Linked DNA regions of Homo sapiens: all the other regions are linked to region 3. The links are contacts of gene promoters, found by promoter capture Hi-C in blood cells and fetal thymus (Javierre and others, 2016). All regions are on one chromosome and are shown on one strand. The core of a region is centred on a gene start or on the middle of the fragment in contact, and the rest is flanking DNA. Distances in the headings are between cores, read along the strand shown.

Region 1 (3,521 bases), core at 262-2,761, 280 kb before region 3:
GCAGAAACAGAAACATGAAATCAAACAGCTTTCAAAGGGCTCAGGTAGATGTGATGGGCTCTCACACCAAGCTGGGAATTGTCTGCCAAGTTTCCACAGTGAACAAAACCCTAAAAGCAACTTGGAGTTTTTGTCTATGCCAATACTGAAAATGTTTATTGCCAAACTGAATGAAATAAGCTTCATAATAAAGTTACCTTCCTAATCATAAGCTTCATAATAAAGTTACCTTCCTAAAGGTTTCACCTTTAATCTTTACCCTAAATATGTGATGCTGTATTGGCACCAATACAATATAATGCACTTAAATTAATTTGAGCTTGAAGTGATTATTTGTGATAGTACTTTTTTTCTTTGGAAATCTTTCTGCAAAAGACATAAAGAACTGATGGGTATCATTTGGACTTGTTTTTATTTTTCCAGATATTTTTGTATAAAAGATAAAGTAAAACTAAGTGCTTAAATAAATGAATTATTTTGATTAGAGAACTATAAAAAAATTAATTATCATTCTAATACCCTTTCCTTGAGTTTAATTATTTTTCCTCACTTCAGTGACTTCAACACATTCATATGCATTAGTGAATTAGATCCAATAAACATTTGCTGAGTACCTAATGCATTCAATACACTGTGCTAGATACTACAAGGAATAATACAAATATGAATATGATTTCACCAGATCACTAATGCATTTATACAAGATATAAGCACATAAAGAATTATAATAAAAGGCAAATTTCAAAATTCTGGTGTCACAAGAGCAGAGCTAACTGAAACTGTGGTACACAGGAGCTTGAGATCACACATTGTTACAGAGACCAGGAAAGGTAATGGAAGAAGGGACCCTAACCAGGGACTAGAAAATGGGAATGTTTCAACAGAAAGAGATGTGCTAAAGTGTGCAGTGTTTCAGGGAAGGCTGAGTGATTTAGTTTGGCTGGTTTTAAGACAAAAATGACATAGCTGTGGGCAGTAAGTCTTAGTAGAAGATAAGGCTACGATGGTGGTTGGGGAATATACTGAAGTTTAATTATAACATAGCTAATATTTATCACATTCTTATGTGCAAAGTGCCAGGCTTTACATGTGCTATTCTTGTAACTCCCCCAACTGTCCAATGAAGTAGGTACTATTATTCCACTTAAAAATGAGGACACATTTTAGAATGGCAGATTCGGGAAGCATAGTTCGGGGGAAGCCACAGATTATGGTGGTTAACTGTATGGCTTCTGGAGCCATAAGTTTAAATCCTACCTATTTCTTCTACTAAAAACCTTGGCAAATCTCCTAACTGCTCCATGGCTTACTTTCTTTATCTGTAGCATGAGGTTGAAAGAATAATTTCCTTATGGAATTGTAATGAATATTAAACGTAGTGCCCAGCAAATAAGTTGTTATTAGTTTGAACAATATGAAATCATTGCCTTTGTAGGTCAAATATTGGCAATTTCAAATGGCTCAATCTAATAGGTATTAGATGTTATTAATTTAGAAGACAAATGAATGTCATTGAAAGGTTTTGCCCTCTGTAACTACATCCTATTTCTTGTTCTTTCCCATATATATGCCTCCACCTAATAGTTATACCTGCTGTCTTTATCACTTCATCAATTGCATTGCAAGGGGCTTCTTTCCCCTTCAGTTTCAAAAACCAATCTAAATAGCCCTAAACCAAATTAAACAGTAATGACACCTAACTGAATATTTCATAGTAGAGCCAAGAGATAATAAAATATACCACTATATCAGGGAAAAACATATATATATATATAATGTTTAATATTTTTTCAGCTATGGGACCAGACTTGTAATAAGTAATACATACATATGGGGAATTTTATAAAAATATTTCAGATAATTCCTTCACTCATTCATTTATTCTTTCATTCACTTATTTATTCAATCAATTTTTATTGAGCACATCCTACGCACAAGACACAATATTAGGTACAGAAAAGCTATAAAGATAAATGTGACACATTCTTTACCATTAATAATAATATATATTATCTAAAATTTAATTTGAGCTAATATATAACTGACAATGAAATATTTGGACCACCTAAAACAAGGATAAATTATTCTGTGACAAGTTTATATTCTTGCATTATGCAAAAATGATTCGAAAATAAACTATTTTTTTCCCAGAAATTGTATGAGCTATACATTGCTATGTAACAAATTGCCCCAAATTTAGCGGCGTACTACAACAAACACTTCTTATCTCATACAGTTTCTGAGGATGAGGAATCCAGAATGGTTTCCTTGGGTTTTCTGGCTGAAGGTCTCTCATGAAATTACGGTCAAGCTATTAGACAGGGCTGCAGTCATCTGAAGGCTTGACTGAGGCTGGAAGATCTACTTCTAAAATGGCTGTTGACAGGAGGCCTCAATTCCCTGCTGGCATTTGATAGAAGGTCTCAGTTCTTCATCATGTAGGTCTTTCCAGGGCTGCTCAGGACATGGCAGTTGACTTCCCCCAGAGCAAGTGGTCCAAGAGAGAGCAAGGAGGAAGCCACAGTGACTTTTATGACCTACTTCAAAGTCTCACAGTCTCTTCCATTTTCCTGTATTAAAAGTAAGTCCCTAATTGCTAAAAGAGTACATTTTTAAATGTTCTCACCACAAAGAAATTATAAGAGGTTATGGATATGTTAATTAGCTTGATTTAATAATTCCATAATGTATACATATATAATAATATAATATTGTACCCCATAAATACATACAATTATTATTTGTCAATTAAAAATAAAATAAAAAGACGTAAGTCACTAAGTCCAGCCCATTTTCAGGATGAGGAAGATTAAGCTTCATCTCTTCAAAGGAGAAGAATCAGACTTTATGGATATAAAACTACCACAGAAGTGATGTTAATGTCTCATTTGAATAATTGATTTGAAATTTTTTGCATTTGGTAGAACTCTGTGCTTGCATGTGCTTGTTACTTTTTTGTTCATAAGTTTTAAATAATAACTTTACTATTTCCTGATGTAAAAAGTAACAAATATAAACTATAGAACACTTAATACAGATAGGGAAGTTAGAAAAACATGAATCACTCATAATTCTACAATGCAGATATAGCCATTTTTAACATGTTTTTATTTCTTGTGTGTATATATATGCAAATATTAGTGTTCACACACACAAATACATATATATATACACACACATACATATATAATATATATGCCTTAAGTACATAATAAATATTTTGGAACATGTGTATGTGTATATTCTTATTTAGATATATAAGAATTTACCCCTGTAATTAAAATTACTTGGAAACAGAATTTTAATGGCTACATAACAATATACAAATAAATGTTTATTTCCCTCTTTTTTTTTTTTTAGAGACGGAGTCTTGCTCTGTCGTCCAGGCTGGAGAGCAGTGGCGCCATCTCGGCTCATGCAACCTCCGCCTCCCGGGTTCAAGCGATTCTCCTGCCTCAGCCTCCCGAGTAGCTGGCATTATAGGTGCCTGCCATTGCACCCGGCTCATTTTTTGTATTTTT
Region 2 (3,127 bases), core at 543-3,042, 310 kb after region 3:
CAGTATCACAAAGTTGAGGCAGATACCACAAAACATCATCTGCACATCACTATTTTGTTATGGTAGTTAGACCTACCACTAGATCCTGTTATTTAATACTTTTAAAAAAAAGCATTTGATAATATTTCAGTAAAACTGGTTTTCCTTGTAATCTGTATTTTATATTGAATGTTTAAAAGGATTGTTCTGAGAAAGAGTCCACAGGTTTCAGCAGATAGGCCAAGAGCTTTTGTGGCACAAAGCTTAGCATCTAAGGTTCTTTCTGACAAAGTTAGTTTGAAAACAATGGATATTGTTTAGTACAGAGTCAGAAAGTTAACTAGTTAAAAAACTGGATACGAAGAAGAGTCATATATAATGAAAAGGTATTTTACTTTTTATTGATTTGCAGATGTAATTTCTAGTAAAATTACTTCAAGATGTGAATAGGGTACTTGGGGTATGAAACAAATTTTTTTAAAGAGGTCATAAACTTAACACTTGCAGGTATTCATTTATTTTAATAACACACTTCAAAAGACTCCCTATACTGGTGATTGGTTTTATTCCCTATGGAATTTTGCCCTGTTTTTGGGGGGTTTCATTTCTATTGTACAAACTCAAGACATCGAAGATATGCCCTAAGATATAAAGCAATTAAACTGTATGTTAGGGCCTGGGTAGAGCTTGGAATTGTTAATCATTCTATTAGGATTTTTCGTCTTTTTTTGTTTGTTTGTTTTGTTTTTTGTTTGAGGCAGAGTCTTGCTCTGTCACCCAGGCTGGAGTGCAATAGCACGATCTTGGCTCACTGCAAACTCTGCCTCCCGGGTTCATGCCATTCTCCTGCCTCAGTCTCCCAAGTAGCTGGGACTACAGGCGCCCGCCACCACGCCCGGCTAATTTTTTGTATTTTTAGTAGGGACGGGGTTTCACCGTGTTAGCCAGGATGCGTCTTGATCTCCTGACTTCGTGATCCGCCCGCCTCAGCCTCCCAAAGTGCTGGGATTACAGGCGTGAGCCACCATGCCTGGCCAGGTTTTTTCAACATTATAGAGATAAAATGGTTCATTGCAGCTCTAGTTGAAGTCGTGAATAAAGATGAGATTGAAACTAAGATATGGATTTGCCAAGTATACGAATTAAATAAACTCTTGATCTTGACTAGGTTTTATTTGTTGGTAAGCTACTTTTTTGTGGAAGAGTATTTTGATACATAGAAATAATCCTCCCCCTTTGTTATTTTGCTCTAGTTTATTAAATAAATCATTTGATTCTAATAAGCGTAGATAAGGTGGTTAGTTTATTTTCTGGAAGTACAAGTAAACAAGCCCATGGAAACAGCACTAAGTGCTGAAGACTTTCTGCTCTCATAATGTTTCTGGTTATCGAAATATGTCTCCATCTGTAATTTAGCAGAAACTAAGAGAAAGAGCCACTTTTGCAAACCAGCCCATGAACTTTTAGCCAAATCCTCTTATGTAATGTAAGGTCAACAAGAGAGTATTCCCATTATATAGATGAAGAAATTGCATGCCGTTGAGAGAAGCTAAGTGACTTGCCTAACTTTATTATTGCTACTAATGGTAACCCAGAGCTCTGATGCTCAGGACTTCTAATTTCAGGTGAGTAGTTTGTACTACATAGTGCTGCCCTGCTACTCACTAGCCACCACCTCCCTTCTTTAATTTTTGCCTCCTGATGAAGCCACATTTCGTGGCTAGCCCAGCAGTAGGCTGGGCTTTTGGAAGGGAGGGCACCTTTTCTTGCCTTTAGGGGAAGGTCATTTCTGCCTTTGTGGGAAACCACCTGAGCAAGTAATGACAGGGCACATCATGTAAACAATATCTAAGGGGTCAAATGGATTTTATTTTTGATATGCATTAATGGCAAGGTCACTATGTAATTTTTTTGGCCAAACTAGCACATTTTTTAGAGTAAAAAGGGGCACGAATGTAATGAAAATTATATATTTGGAATATCTATTGGCTTACAAATATATTAGTGAACTTATAGAATAGTTTCAGACCATTTTCAAAATTAACATTTTAAAAGATAATTTATATCCTTATGTGTTAAAATAAAAATTTATATTACATGAACATTCAGCATGAACAATTATTCCTGGTGCATATTCACATGCTTGAATCAGTTTCTTAGCTGTATCTTTTAACACCTTGATCCTGATAATTTTCTGAAAAAAGTTAATAAGATCTTATGCTTTGTTTATTTTTTTTGAGACAGAGTCTTTCTCTGTCACCCAGGCTGAGTGCAATGGTGTGATCTTGGCTCACTGCAACCTCCGCCTCCTGGGTTCAAGTGATTCTCCTGCCTCAACCTCCCGAGTAGCTGGGACTACAGGTGCATGCCACCACGCCCAGCTAATTTTTCTATTTTTAGTAGAGACGGGGTTTCACCATATTGGTCAGGCTGGTCTTGAACTCCTGACCTCGTGATCCACCCGCCTCGGCCCCTCAAAGTGCTGGAATTACAGGCGTGAGCCACTAGGCCCGGCCCTTGTGCTTAATTTTAAAATTAAATTTTCTGCAATTTTCTTAACAGTTGCAAATAGAATCTTTGCTTTAGACAATGGTTATTTTAGTTTTAAAGGTACTGTCTCTATAGATGCTGAAACACCACATAAACTGCTAAATGGAACAGTCTTAATTCTACATTTTGCACATTGAAATGGGAAGATATTTTAGCCTAAATATTTTCACAGGTGCTATGTTGGTGTATCTTTTCAAAGTACTTTTCTTTGACAAATATTTAGATAAAAGAAATAAGTTGTTTTTGTGTATGATTTTAAAAATAGTTTACCATATTTAGATAGGGGAAAATTAAAGTTTTTCTCAATTGTATTCCAATGTTTTACAAAATGGTAATTTATTCCAGGAAATTTTATTCAACAAAAAATATGAGTTCCATCAGAAGATTATTCTCAGACATTGAACTATTTAAAATTGCTATTATAGATGTATTTATTTACTAATTCTGCTGTATACAAAGTTCCACAAACTAGCTAGCTTGAAACAGCAGAAATCTGTTTTCACACTGGAAACAGTGGAAGGAGGCTGGAAGTCTGAAATCAAAGTATCTGTAGGCCCACACTCTGTCGACTAGCTTCTGGTTATTGCCAGCAGTCCTT
Region 3 (3,165 bases), core at 584-3,083:
ATACATTGGCTTGCTATGATTTTACAACAGCTATGGTATCACAAGGCAATAGGAATTTTTTAGCTCCACTATAGTCTTATGGGATCATCATCACTTATACAGTCTATTACTGCCCAAAACGTTGTTATGTGGTGGGTGACTGCACATAAGTCACAGAGAATTGCTATTGAAGAGATCACTATCTTGTGGGAGAGGCAGACAAGTGGACAAATAATTTTGACCATATGTGACACGTGTCAATATAGATGTATGTTCCAATTATATGCTCTAATTGCTCCAATTGAATAGACATAGGAACACGTCAAAGCCTCATCATCATCATTTTCAACACATTATCTTCACTACTGTAGCTACTTTGCACTGAGTCCCTACCAGTACATTGAAATAGTGATAAACGTTATGATATCTAATGTCACAGTGTTTTCCATTTAAGAAACAAAACAATTTTAAACACTTTTAAATACACAGATACACATACACACACATATATATATATATATCTACAATATATGTGTGTGTATGTTTGTGTATTCTGTGAGAAATACGAAGAACAGAGTTCTGCAAGATAGAACAACAAGGGAACACAATTATATATAGCTGTCAGGGAAGGCACACCTGAGGAAGTGATATTTAAGCTGACACCAGAAATATGAATAGGTCTTAGCCAGCTGAATAGGCAGGTGTAGGGAGAGTAGGAGAAAGAATTGCATATTCCTACAAAAATGCAGGTTTGCTGAGCATTAGAATATCAGCTAGTTCCATCCAGTGGGTCCCTGACACCCTTCACCACTGTTAGTCAGAGTGACAGGGAACCTTGGGCTTTGGGTTGAGGGTGTACCTTGCCCTGATCAAGAGCCAAAGTCATTCTTTTTTAGAGAAGAGAAAACGGTCGATATGGATCTCTTCCCCTTTCCCGTGTGGGATTCTGTTGCATCCCCTTCACTGTCACCTCCCATCATTCTCACACCCAACTCCCAGATGCCCTGAATCCTCCCACAGAGAGCATCACTGCTCCCTGCCAACAGTGCAGCCCATCTCACCCTGTCACTGGCAGTGACTGAGGACACAGCAGGCTCTGGAAGACATGGCCTGGCAAACTCTCCTTGTCCTCTCTTCTGGACTATTATTCAGGATTGAAACAATGAAGAAACATCCAGGAGCTAAGTTTTTATAAAAATAATGCATTCAAATATTACTTCTGCAATTTTTCTAAGAGTAACGGGAAATAGATCTTGCATCCTACAGTATACTGGGTGATTGTTGGTGGAGCCTGGTAAATCTCATCCAGAGACTAGGGAAGTTTTCCACATTCAGGTGAAATTCAGAAGAGTCATCACCTAGAGACCAAATTAAACTTATTAGTATTAGAAAACAATTGCAAATAGCACACTCTTCAAACACACAGCCATCAAACTCAATGGTAATCAAGACTGAAGTTAGGAGCATATGGGCAGTTCTTGAGTTGAGAAGGAAACAAGAACTGTCTGGGTCCTGAAGCCACCTGCTGTGTAAGTTGCTTGGTGACTACAGAGAACTCTACTATGATACAACACAGAAAATATTTCTCTTCTAAGATGCAAGTAGTGTTTCTAACTCCACAAATGTAAGTGTATATAAACTGAGGTTGGAGGTATGCATCTTTGTACCACCTCCTAGCCAAGGCAGCTGCCCCCAGCCTTTTGTTTTGTAATCTTGGCTGGCCAGAGTCTGAGTCTTCATAGCAGTGTCTTAGCTCCTGCACCACAGTTCCTCGCTGTCCACCCCAGGCTTCCGGACTGGAAGGACAGTGGGACAGTGACGGGGGATAAAAGAAGCCTGGTGAGGCCAGGAGTCACTGCCTGCAGAACCCCAGCCCGACTTTCCCTGCGCACTGGGATCCTGCTGGAACCTCAGCTGCAACATGAGCTCCGCAGCCAGGTCCCGCCTCACCCGCGCCACCCGCCAGGAGATGCTGTTCTTGGCGTTGCTGCTCCTGCCAGTTGTGGTCGCCTTCGCCAGAGGTGAGAGCAGAAACCAGGCTGGGAGGGCCAGCAGCGGCGAGGGGGAGTCCGGGAAGCCCTGGGGCTGGGGAGGAATCCTCTAGGATCATGATCGCAGCTGCTCTTATTGCGCGCGTGCTGAGTCTGCGGGTACAGTGCCAGGCACTGCACGTGCACCTCGCCACCTGATCAGCACAACCTCTGTCTGAGAGAGGTCTGATTTACGGCTAAGGAAAAGAAAGCTGAAGGTAGTGGAAAAGGTCCCTAAAGTATCTCTGGCTACTCAGGGAGTCACAACTCCCACCCCTCCTCCTCTCTTACTCCCTCCCTTTCCCCCTCAGCTGAAGCTGAAGAAGATGGGGACCTGCAGTGCCTGTGTGTGAAGACCACCTCCCAGGTCCGTCCCAGGCACATCACCAGCCTGGAGGTGATCAAGGCCGGACCCCACTGCCCCACTGCCCAACTCATGTGAGTCCTCGCACTGCATCAGTTAGTGCTCCCGCTCCGTGCCTCCTCTGCCCATCCCTCCCCCTTCTAATGCCATTTGCAAACCCAAGGACTGAAAGTCACGTCTCTTCTCTTTTCCCTGCCAGAGCCACGCTGAAGAATGGGAGGAAAATTTGCTTGGATCTGCAAGCCCTGCTGTACAAGAAAATCATTAAGGAACATTTGGAGAGTTAGCTACTAGCTGCCTAAGTGTGCACTTTCAATCTAACTGTGAAAGAATCTTCTGATGTTTGTATTATCCTTCTTATATTATATTAACGAAATAAATCAAGTTGTGGTATAGTCAATCTATTTCTTAATAATACTGCAAAAATAATGCTGACACATCACAATTTCATATTTTAAAATTTCCAGAATTTTAAGCAAAAAGCATTATGAAGGAAGGCTTGGTTTAATAAAGACTGATTTTGTTCAGTGTTATATGTTAGCTGATACATATTTGTTCATTTATGTGATTGCAGTACTTTATAGCTACATATTTACCTTGAATGTTACAATTAGCTTGCCAATAAATATTAGTAGCTCTTAAGCATTACTCGACAGCTTTTTTTTTTTTCAATGAAGTAAATAAGCAACACTCTGCTTTTATCCCCACAAATTCCTTAACATTGGTGATATTAAGATTCTGGGAACTAAGAGAAGTGTGAGGTAATATTTTCATTCATCCTTTAGGAAGACA

The links. Contacts are between HindIII fragments. The CHiCAGO score rates a contact against its expected background, and 5 or more counts as called.
Region 1: a contact is called between a fragment that was not itself captured here and the fragment with the promoter of PF4V1 in region 3, in 1 of 17 cell types (megakaryocytes). The highest score is 5.3, in megakaryocytes.
Region 2: a fragment that was not itself captured here is called in contact with the fragment with the promoter of PF4V1 in region 3 in 1 of 17 cell types (neutrophils); the score reaches 5.8 in neutrophils.

The regions. Positions count from the first base shown.
Region 1 is chr4:73,569,787-73,573,307 of GRCh38, forward strand. It overlaps RASSF6 (Ras association domain family member 6), which reads right to left. Exons shown (of 11, transcript NM_177532.5): 11 at 1,764-3,521. Among named protein-coding and RNA genes, the nearest start is that of RASSF6, 49 kb to the right of the region's middle. The HindIII fragment of the contact is 2,602 bases long and covers 211-2,812 here.
Region 2 is chr4:74,163,161-74,166,287 of GRCh38, forward strand. All of the region lies in intron 1 of MTHFD2L (methylenetetrahydrofolate dehydrogenase (NADP+ dependent) 2 like), which reads left to right. Among named protein-coding and RNA genes, the nearest start is that of MTHFD2L, 6.6 kb to the left of the region's middle. RefSeq lists an enhancer at 1,626-1,755. The HindIII fragment of the contact is 3,104 bases long and covers 241-3,127 here.
Region 3 is chr4:73,851,463-73,854,627 of GRCh38, forward strand. It overlaps PF4V1 (platelet factor 4 variant 1), which reads left to right and starts at 1,834. Exons shown (of 3, transcript NM_002620.4): 1 at 1,834-2,000; 2 at 2,321-2,447; 3 at 2,573-3,021. The coding sequence starts at 1,901. The coding sequence ends at 2,660. The HindIII fragment of the contact is 5,836 bases long and covers 1-3,165 here.